3 separate regions of the Homo sapiens genome follow, and all the other regions are linked to region 3. Evidence: promoter capture Hi-C in 16 types of primary human blood cells and fetal thymus (Javierre and others, 2016). All regions are on one chromosome and are shown on one strand. The core of a region is centred on a gene start or on the middle of the fragment in contact, and the rest is flanking DNA. Distances in the headings are between cores, read along the strand shown. Region 1 holds the start of CAPN11 (calpain 11). Region 2 holds the start of SLC29A1 (solute carrier family 29 member 1 (Augustine blood group)). Region 3 has its middle 12 kb from the start of VEGFA.

Evidence for each region. The method cuts DNA at HindIII sites, captures the fragments that hold promoters and counts their contacts. A CHiCAGO score of 5 or more calls a contact.
Region 1: a contact is called between the fragment with the promoter of CAPN11 here and a fragment that was not itself captured in region 3, in 13 of 17 cell types (naive CD8 T cells, activated CD4 T cells, naive CD4 T cells and 10 more). The highest score is 9.9, in naive CD8 T cells.
Region 2: the fragment with the promoter of SLC29A1 here is called in contact with a fragment that was not itself captured in region 3 in 2 of 17 cell types (erythroblasts and total CD4 T cells); the score reaches 7.5 in erythroblasts.

What each region holds. Positions count from the first base shown.
Region 1 is chr6:44,157,126-44,160,645 of GRCh38, forward strand. It overlaps CAPN11 (calpain 11), which reads left to right and starts at 1,695. Exons shown (of 23, transcript NM_007058.4): 1 at 1,695-1,739. The coding sequence starts at 1,724. It overlaps LOC107986599 (a long non-coding RNA gene), which reads right to left and starts at 1,478. Exons shown (of 3, transcript XR_002956350.2): 1 at 1,460-1,478. RefSeq lists an enhancer at 2,872-3,041. The HindIII fragment of the contact is 9,288 bases long and covers 1-3,520 here.
Region 2 is chr6:44,221,263-44,224,844 of GRCh38, forward strand. SLC29A1 (solute carrier family 29 member 1 (Augustine blood group)) reads left to right here and starts at 2,333. Exons shown (of 13, transcript NM_001372327.1): 1 at 2,333-2,379. RefSeq lists enhancers at 2,162-3,020, 3,263-3,412 and a silencer at 2,173-2,572. The HindIII fragment of the contact is 15,932 bases long and covers 1-3,582 here.
Region 3 is chr6:43,756,221-43,759,711 of GRCh38, forward strand. No RefSeq gene overlaps it. Among named protein-coding and RNA genes, the nearest start is that of VEGFA, 12 kb to the right of the region's middle. RefSeq lists enhancers at 2,173-2,709, 2,325-2,384. The HindIII fragment of the contact is 9,019 bases long and covers 1-3,491 here.

The DNA of each region.
Region 1 (3,520 bases), core at 445-2,944, 400 kb after region 3:
CAGATAATGCCCAAGCAGCACACTGAGCAAGAGTCCTGAGGACAGCCCTCCCCCAGGGTGGGAGGCTGTAATAGAGAGGAACACCCGTGCCTGCCTGCACCCTACCCCTGGCACCTCGTCACAGAGTTCATGTCCAGGCAGATCACATTAGAGGCATCCAAGAGGTGCAATAGTGGAATCAGGAGTGGGCAGGGGAGACCACAGGATCCCCAAAGACCACTTCCTCCTTTCACAGCTGGGGGCAGCAGAAGATACGGATAAGAGCTAAAGTTATGGCCGGGCACGGTGGCTTATGCCTATAATCCTAGCGCTTTGGGAGGCCGAAGCGAGTGATCACCTGAGGTCAGGAGTTCGAGACCAGCCTGCCCAACATGGCGAAACCCCGTCTCTACTAAAAATACAAAAATTAGCTGGGCATGGTGGTGGGCACCTGTAATCCCAGCTACTTGAGAGGCTGAGGCAGGAGAATCGCTTGAACCCGGGGGGCAGAGGTTGCAGTGAGCTGAGATTGCACCACTTCACTCCAGCCTGGGCAAAAGAGCGAGACTCCATCTCAAAAAAAAAAAAAAAAAAAAAAATCTGAAGTTATTAGTTTAAATCCTGGCTCGACCGCTTAACAGCTGTGTGACCCTGGGCAAGTTGCATCATACCTCTAGACCTCACTTTCCTCATCTATAAAATGGGAATAGCAATGTCATGGCCTCTGGCTGTTTTAAGGATTAAATAAGTAGGAAGTTCTTAGCCCAGTGTTTGGCACATAATAACAAACCATAATTAATATTCTCGTAGATGAGGAGATTGAGTCCCAGAAAGGAGAAAGGGGGAGGGCTCGCCCAAGGTCAGCTCCTGTTTCAGAGCTTGGAACAAGGTTCTCTGATCCCATTGGGTGCTCTCACACCTGTTCTGTGCCTGATTAGCACCAGGCAGGGCTGAGGGGCACTGGGATGACCTTGACAGTCCCTGTCCTCAGCCATCATACACTCCAGAGAAGACTGCACTCTGGAGCAGAGTTCTTAGCTCAAAGCATTCCCACTTTCCAGTGCAGAGGCAGGACATGTGGTCAGACCAGTGGCCTAACCTTGCCAGACTGGGGCTAGGCAAGGAGAGTGTTGCAGGTGGAATCGTGTCCCCCAAAAAGGCATGTTGAAGTCCTGGCCCCCAGTACTTCAGAATGTGACCTCATTTGGAAACAGGGTGGTTGCAGATGTAATTCGTTCAATTAAGATGAGGTCATACTGAAATGCATGGGACCCTAGCCCCATATGACTGGTGTCCTTATAAGAAGAAGAGACACAGAGGAGGGTGCCATGTGAAGACAGCAACACAGGAAAAATGCCATGTCAGTGAGAAAGGGGCTTTTGGGAATGAGAAGGCTTTCTGGATGTAAAGGTCAGGTTGGTGTGTCAGGGACAACCCCTTCCTGGAAACCTTGGGCTGAAAAAAAGGGACTGGGACCTACCCTGATGGGATGACCGTGATACAGTGAGGACAGCCAGGCTGGTGGAGGCTGTGCAAGGCAGGGGTGCTGGGTCATCTGTCCCTAAAGCGGGTAGCCCTCAGCTGGGTAAGGGGCTGGGTTACTGAGAAGGAGAAAAGGGAAGGCAGCTGTTAAACCGGCTGCTGACCTAGGAATCCCACTGCAATGAGAGAGTTCTGGGGGGAGGGTCTCTTCTCCCCCTCCCACCAGAACCTTCAACTGTCAAGCACCGAGCTAGCCACCAGCATGCTGTACTCCCCAGGTAGGCACTCATGGGGCCTTGCCCCACTCCTGTACCTCCTGCAGGCTAGAGCCTCCCCCCAGGGGAGGAGCTGTGTCCCGCATCAGACTGGGTGCCCCTTGAGGGTACAGAGAGTGACTCTTCCATCAGACTGGATGCCCCTTGAGGGTACAGAGAGTGACTCTTCCATCAGACTGGATGCTCCCTAAGGACAGGACCTGGGCCTCGTTCTCAGACTGTTTGGGGAAGGATAGGCCACTGGTGGTCAGACTGGGTGGTAGGCCGGGCAGGAACTCTTTCTCCTCTCCACTGACAGTTGGAGTTGGGGAGAGGAGAGGGGCCGGCCATCCCACTGTCATGGCTGCTGGGGAAAAGGGTTTGTGTGAAAAAGCCCACGTAGAGAAGAAAACTTTAGGGAACAGAGAGAACCTCTCCTAAGCCTAGAAAAGCAGGTCCCTCAGCCCAGGAAGATGAGATCCTCAGGGTGGCAGGGGCAGGACTACCTGAGGCAAGCCTGGGACCAGACTCCAGGAGATGGGGGAGAGTGGGCTGGGGGGAAGGGGAGGGCTGGGCAGAACTGAGTTGTTCCTGTGGGGCTAGGGTGCACAGAGGGCAGCCAGCCTTGGCCAGCAGAAGGTCAGCCCTGTACCTCACCCTCAGCCTGGGGCACCGTGAGACCATGGGCCCCTAGACCCAGCCTCCCAGCTTCTCAGGCCCTCCCTGTTTACCTGACCCTAGGAAGTTTAGGCCTAGCTGGTGACCCCAAACCCAGTCCTTGTTCTTCAGAAGTGCCCTGAGCCCAGGAGTTCAAGACCAGCCTGGTCAGCATAGCAAGACCTCATCTCAAAATATAATTTATTTATTTATTATTATTACTTATTAGTATTTATTTTTTTTTAAAGTTCCCTGACACAACATCTTAGTTTTTTCCCAGTGCCGGAAATCAAACTGTCCTTAAATCTATAGTCCCCTAATAACAATGTATTGCATTTAGAAAATCACTGAGAGAGGCCAGGCACAGTGGTTCACGCCTGTAATCCTAGCACTCTGGGAGGCCAAGGCAGGTGGATCATCTGAGGTCAGGAGTTCGAGACCAGCCTGGCCAACATAGTGAAACCGTGTCTCTACTAAAATACAAAAATTAGCCATGCGTGGTGGCGGGCGCCTGTAATCCCAGCTACTCGGGAGGCTGAGGCAGGAGAATCTCTTGAACCCAGCAAGTGGAGGTTGCAGTGAGCCGAGATCGTGCCACCGCACCCCAAGCCTGGGCGACACAGCGAGACTCCATCTCAAAAAAAAAAGAAAATCACTGACAGTAGATTTTAAGTGTTCTCACCACAAACAAATAACAAGTATGTGCAGTAATGCAGATATTAATTAGCTCAACTGAGCCATTCCACAGTGAATACATATTTCAAAACACCATGTCGTATACAACAGATATATACTTTTTTTGTCAATAAAATAAAACTGATTTAGTTAAAAACGATCTGGCCGGGCGCAGTGGCTCACGCCTGTAATCCCAGCACTTTGGGAGGCCGTGGCGGGCAGATCACGAAGTCAGGAGATCGGGACCATCTTGGCTAACGCGGTGAAACCCTGTCTCTACTAAAAATACAAAAAATAAGCCAGGCGTGGTGGCGGGCGCCTGTAGTCCCAGCTACTCGGGAGGCTGAGGCAGGAGAATAGCGTGAACCCAGAAGGTGGAGCTTGCAGTGAGCCAAGATCGCTCCACTGCACTCCAGCCTGGGCGACAGAGTGAGACTCCGCCTCAAAAAAAACCTCAAAAAACAACAACAACA
Region 2 (3,582 bases), core at 1,083-3,582, 470 kb after region 3:
CTAGTCCCAGCCCTGTCACAAGGCCATGGAGATACAGTCACAAACACAACTGAGAACACAGACAGTCATGAGACATGTGCTGGTTACCAACCCCCAGGCCAAGCAAACACACTTCCAGCAAACACACATGACTTGTTGGTGACAGCTGAGAGGACACATGCCTGGGGAGAGAGAGGACTGTGTGTGAGGTGGTGAGGCATGCATGGGGCCTGCCAAGTTGGGGAGGGAGTCTGGGCCAAGCCACGGTCCCATATAGGGTGGTGAATAAGGTGTAGAGTAGAGGTGCAGCAGGACCAACCCTTCCCACCCCACCCCTTCGACAGGGACCTGAGGGAGCTCAGGGAGGGAGAGAAGCCAGAAGACCAGGCAGAGACTGAAGAGAGCTGGCAAGGCCTGGCTAGAAAAACTCCAGGCAAGGCCTGTGTAAGTTGGGGCTCCCAGGCTGTCCAGCAGGGGGCCCTGGCACCCAGCAACCTCTGCTTGGGAGGTGGCTACAGAGGGGTGTGGGTGTTGGCTAGGGGCCCAGCAGGATGGATGCCAGACGGACTTCTCTCCAACAATAACAGCCCTGGCTGTTGCCATCCACCGAGCTGGCAGGGCCCCAGTTTGGGTGGGGAGAGGAACCAGCCTTTCCCAGTCTGGCCTGAGACCCTCACCACTTCCCTCCAGTTTTCTTCCACCTCCAGCCCCCTCTGTACACAACTGCAGCCACTGGCCACCAGCCTTGCCATGCCTGGCAGATCTTCTGACCACTAGCCCTGCCACCCCCACAGACCCAGAGACCAGGAAAGGAGGGTGGGGAGCGAGGAAGGGGGCCAAGGCAGAGGGCAGAGGAGGGCTAGGAGAGGAAGAGAGAGAGACTGGACAAACATGAGGGCAGGAATTAGGGGGTTGTGGACAGACATGAAGCCACTCTCAAGTCATGGGGCTGTGCCTGGAAAAATACCACCTAAACCCATCTTCCTGCCCTCTGGTTAGGGCTGGCGGGGATGTGGGGGATGGGGGTGGGGTGGGGGAGGGTTGGGAAGGAATATGTGTGTCATCTCTGTGGGGCATGGAAACAGAAGGCTGGGGACACCCATTCTGGAGTAGCTTGGGGAGAGCCACTGACCCTAATTAGAAAAGCCACCTCTCTCCTTAGGGCCCTGTCTGTTTCTCTGGGGACAGGGTAGGACTACCTTATCCCTATGATGTGAGGTACTGCCAGTTGTTAATCAGTGTCTGTGGCTTCTCTAGGGGACAAGCCCTTCGGGTCAGTGGGCATGGGGTGGGCAGCGTGGGTTGGATTTTCTCCTCAGGACCTTTCCAGCCTTAGGATCATCCTCTAGCACTGAGTACTGCTGGAAGGGCAGGGAGTGCCCCCCACCCCACCCCATTTATTGCCCGACCAAAGAGAGGGCCTCCCTCCCCCTCCCTTGGAGGGACTTGCTGGACCACCCCTCAGCACGCCCACACCTTCCTCCTTAGCTAGTGAAAGACATACTCAGCAAGGCTTCCGCCTGTCAGGATGGCTGGGACAATAGGATTCACTGAGGATATAAGGCTGTTCCTAGCTTTTTCTCTTCCCATTCCCACCTGTGCCTCAGTTTTCCAAAGTGCTGGATTTAGAAAGGGTGAATTATGAGGGAGCTGGAGGGCTTTGCCCCACCCCCCTCCGCGCGCACACGCAAGCACAGGCAGAGGCACATACCCCCTCCAAGTCAAAGTTGTGAGTGGGGTGGTGTTTGCGCGTCTGTGGCTGGGACTGGATGTGTCAGGGATGGGAAAACCCATCATGCTGGTCACAGAAAATGCGCGGTGGGGACAGAAGCAGTTTTGAAGGAAAAGAAGAGGAGGGGGACTGAAAGAAAGAAGGGGGCGCTGAAAGGGAGGGCGCTGGGAGGAAAAAGGTGCAGTGTGGAGGAAGCGCGGCGTGGGCAGGGCTTGGGAAGGGATAACGGAATATCTGAGGTGGAGTGGGCCGTGGAGCGTCGGGGCCGGTCTGAGCAGCGGGTGTGTAAATGGAACAGTCCCGAGATGAATTTTATGGGAGTCTGCGCAGGTCCTTAATGTGTGGCTGTACCCTCCAGCCCCATGTACCCCACACGATGGACAGACAGCCTTGGTGTGGCAGGGCCCAAAGAGGTCCTATCTACCGCAATAACACGACCAGGCGGCCCTGGGGGCGCAGGGGCTCGGGGTGGGAGCGGCGGAGCGCGCGGAGTCGCCGCGGGGTGGCAGGGGTGGGCCGGGGGCGGGGCCGCGGGCGTCGGGGAGGTGGCAGTGGGCGCAGGGCGGGGCGAGCTCAGCGGAGGGCGGGTTTGAATGTGCCCCGGCGGGAGAGGGAAGCTGCAGCGAGAGCGCGCGGATCTCAGCGCGGGAGCAGTGCTTCTGCGGCAGGTGCTGCCCGGGGCCGGGGACTGGGGACTGGGGACTGCCGGGGCGGAAGACGCCGCTGCCCGCCTGCCACGGAGGGCAGGGAGGGCGGGCCTGACGGCTCCGCAGCCCGGAGAAGGGACGCCGGGTGGGGCCCCAGTGCGGAGCGTGCGGAGCCGCGCAGCACGTGGCGCGCACGGGCCAGGGAGCCTGAGGACCCTGCGGGGACCGGGACCCAAGCTGGGCGGGGCGGCCTGGCTCCCGGGCCTAAAACAGGCTGCGGTCACGTTGACCTCCGCAAGGGGCAGGCGAGTGGACGGGTGATCCCCATCGATCTGGTCGGTATCAGGGAGGGGCCGTGCCGCTGACTGCGCTGGCGGAGGGGTATGGGGATGGGGATGGGGATGGAGGCTCGCGAGCGGAGGTGCAGGCTCGCGAGCGGAGGTGCGGGGCTGTCTCTTTAACCCCGGTCTTTTACTGGCTAAACTCGTATCCCTGGCGTCTCCTTCCTGCGCACGTCTTCATTTACTGATTTACTGTGAGGGTATATGAGAGGGTGAAGACAAACAGTCCTCGGCTTTGCTTACCAGGAGAGAGCAGTCGTAGGTCAAGGCTGGCTCCAACCCTGCCCTCACACCTCTAGGGGTCTCTCTGCAGCCCTGTGGTAGTCCCTTTGCCTACTCCTCTCGGTGGCCTCCAGACCCTCCAACTTTCCTCCTGCTTGTGTAAGCTCCCCATGCCAGGATGTGTGTGATGGGGCGGGGCTGAGCTGCCTGACACTCAAGTCAGGCTGGGAATGATCTTGGTCTCCACCTCATTTTTCCCTTTAGTTGAATCAGAGTTCCCCCCACCTCCCAGTCTACAGGGCTAACTGAGAAGCAGCTTTTATACCTCTCTCCATTCCAAAAGGAGCTTGAACATTTAATATGGATTCTAGCTCCTCCACTCACCAGCTCTGTGACTTCAGGCAAGTGACTCAACCCCTCTGAACCTCAGCTGGCCCCATCTATTCAGTGCTAGTACTAGCTTATGGGTGGTTGTGAAGAAAAGACAAGAGATCTGCAGGTAGTGGCTAGCCCCATATGAAATCCTGGGAGTGGAGAATTGCAGGAGAGGTGTTGGGAGTCTGGAGGCAGGGAGGTACTCAATTTGGTGGCTACTTTCAGGGGCCCACCTCAGCAGGCCAAGGCATAGTTGGAGGGACACCAGATGCTCTGAGCTGGTATC
Region 3 (3,491 bases), core at 805-3,304:
TCTCAATATGAACAGCAGAACATTCTGAACTTGAACCCCAACAGATTCTGATTTGAAACCTTGAAAGCATTTGACTGAAGTTCTGATATCTGCTTGCTTTTTGGTTCTTTCTTTCTTTGAGTACAGAAAGGAAATTTTGGTTTGTTGATTGTTCATTCTTGTATTCAAGCCATAGTGGTTAAGAGTGCTGGTTTTGGAGCCAGAGAGAGTTGAGTTTAAATCCCAGCGCTATTGCTTATTTGCTGTATGACTGTGAGCAAGTTACCTAAACTCTCCTGGCCTTTGTTTTATAATTGTAATCTACTTCACAGGGCTATTGTTGGGATTAATGAGATAACATAAGGCACACAGTAGGGATATGATCCCAGACAGTATTTACCTTTATTATTTTCTTTTTTTTTTTTGAGACCAATTGTCACCCCGTTGCCCAGGCTGGAGTGCAGTGGCACGATTTTGGCTCACTGCAACCTCCGTCTCCCAGCTTCAAGTGATTCTTCTGCCTCAGCCTCTCGAGTAGCTGGGACTACAGGCACCTGCCACTACACCTGGCTAATTTTTGTATTTTTTAATTAGAGACAGGGTTTCACCATGTTGGCCAGGCTGGCAAACTCCTGACCTCAGGTGATCCACCTGCCTCGGCCTCCCAAAGTGCTGGGACTACAGGCGTGAACCCCTGCGCCCGGTCACCATTATTATTTTCATTCATAAAGAGTTTACAAGTAAACTGGGCATGGTGGCTCACACCTGTAATCCCGGCACTTTGGGAGGCCAACACAGGCAGATTGCTTGAGCCCCGGGGTTGGAGACCAACCTGGGCAAAATGGCTAAACCTTGTCTCTGCAAAACAAACAAACAAAATCACAAAAATTCGCCAGGCATAGAGGCACATGCCTGTGGTCCCAGCTACCCAGGCAGCTGAGGTGCCCAGGAGGTCGAAGCTGCAGTAAGCTGAGATCATGCCACTGCGCTCCAGCCTGGTAAACAGGGCAAGACCCTGTCTCAAAAAACAAAAATAAAAACAAAAACAAAAAAAAAGAAAAGAAGTCTACATGTGGATGTCTATACCTGCAGGCCTGTATTAGTCCTTAGGCTTGTATGGGGTAAGAGATCACTGAAAAATACACTCTCTCTGTGAATGCACTTGGAGAAAGATAACACACACACACACACACACACACACACACACCCCTTTACAAAATTAAATACATCAGACAGCATTTGAGGCTGGATGAAGAGGTATAGACAGCTCATGCTGTAGGAGTTTAGGGGAGACTGCTGAGCAGAAGTGGTCTAAGAAGGCTTCATGTTTTAAGAGGCAAATCTTCACGGCTGGCACTGTATAGACCAGGATGAAGAAATGAGCAACCTGTGCTTGGGGCTGTCAGAAGACCTGGCTGGCTGGAGTGGGATGGATGTGTAAGGGGGCAGGGGAAAGAAGGGGCCACACACAATCATATTATGAATAATAATGGGAATAGAAACTACCATTTGTTTGGTTCCTGCTATGCACAGGCCAGGTGCTCTTGCTACACCCTTTCCATATATTATCTCATTCAATCCTCACAAGAACCCTGTATAGGTATTATTAGCATGGGTTTTCAAGGAAACTCAGGTTTAGAGAGGTTGCATGACTTGCCCAGGGACAGATAGCTAGAAGTGGGGAGATCCACAATCTGAATGAACAAATTACACGCACAGACACTGTCACAGACAGGCACACACACACAGAGCCCAGGCGCGGCCAAGACAGTTGTCTGTTTCACCTCATCTGTGGCCCCACTCTCCTTTAGTTGAGTTAGGTGCTAGTTCTTTCCTTTGAGGGGTCCAGTGTGAAAAAGTGACCCTACTCCTCACCCCAACTCTGTCTTAAATGTCCCTGCAGCTTTAGTCCCCAGGCAGGCTCCCAAGAGGGCGGGGCCTGGTGCAGTGTTTAAGGAGGTACTCACTCTTAGGGCCTGCGCTGCACCTGCACGACCCTTATAAGAGTGAGCAGCTCCTTACTCCTTACATTTGGTCCTCGCCTAGCTGCCTCGCTTGCCTCTCCCTAGTTCTGACCCTGGATGGGGCGAGGGTAGTGGTGCTTTGCAATGTGAGCCAAGAAGTCTCTTTCTCTTCCAAGGTCAGGCAGAGATTCCTGAGGCTGAAGCCATTGCTCTCCTTTCTGTACTCAAATGAACAGTGTATTTCAGCATATTATCTGAATATTACTCAGATAATATTTCCACCACTCAAACCTACCCTTCTTCAGGGTCCTCCACAGTCCAGCCTACCTTTCTGTCCCTGAATCCTCCAAGCAGTCCCCGTCCCAGCCCTGGCTCATACCTCATACTTCTCTGCTCCTAGAGGGTGAGTCTGGATAGACAGCCTCCGGCGTGGTGCCCCCTCCTCAGGGACCAGGGGCCTGTGCAGAAAGCCTCCTGGGCATGCCCCAGAGGCTGGGAAGTCCAGCACTGCTCTCCCTCGCCCTCTAGAGGCTCGGGGTGGCACTAGGTGAGGTACCTGGGAGGGGTCCTGACTGAGGAGGGGGCCCTGGGCTTCCAGAGAATGTCTGGAGTGTGGCCACGGTTGGGCAACAGCTACATCTGAAGCCCACTGATGGAAGGTGCCCAGCAAGGTTGTTCTGTCGTCTCAGGCAGAAGGGGGTTCAAGGCCGCCCACCTCTGTCTGGGTGTTGCGGGTCTTCCCTCCTGTGGGCCAGAGAAGGGGCTCCCTAACCCGCACCCAGCCAGGCCAGTGGGACAGCCCCTCTCCAACTCCTACCTCCCTCTTGGGCAGCTTCGAGGAGCCTGGAGGCTGCCCCTGCCAGCCCTGGGGGACTGTGGCCCCGTTCTAGAGAGCCAGACATCCCTGAGGACCTTTAGGACAGGAGGGGAGGAAGTGTGAGGAGCTGTGTCCCAAGGTGGCTGTGATCGGGGTTGATGTAGGCAGAACCTGGGAGACGGTGGAAGAAATCTTCAACTCCTGGTAGGGAAGGACACATAGAAAAAGGTGAGGATGGTGGTGTGGAGACAGCCTGGGGGAGAGGCCAGAGTGGACAGAGGCTGTGGAATCACTTAACAAACCTTTCTGGGCGGGGAGACTCGGTGCTGGGGTGTGGGCCTCCAGAGGGGAGTAAGCAGGGCAGACCCACCCTTCCTCATAATACATATGCATAAGCTCATTTGCATAACAACACACCTGCTCACCTGGCCCCCATCGAAGTAACTGGCCTTGCCTCAAATGGTCCATTATTTTTGACTAAAGTATGGGGAAAGGGGACCCATTCTCTTGCTCATCCTTTTCCTTATCTCCCAGATTCCTGGGTTTGGAAGAGAAGGAGGAGTAACTGTGGAATGAGTCACAGAATTATTCCACCTGCCCCAGGGCCAGGCCACGAGTAGAGCGAGGATAGATGTCTCCCTAGAGCCTTACCTGCTGCCCCTGGGGAGGTCTGGGGCTTCCACCCAGAGGAAGAGCAGGGGTGGTCTGGGCAGCCCAGGAGTCTGGGGGAA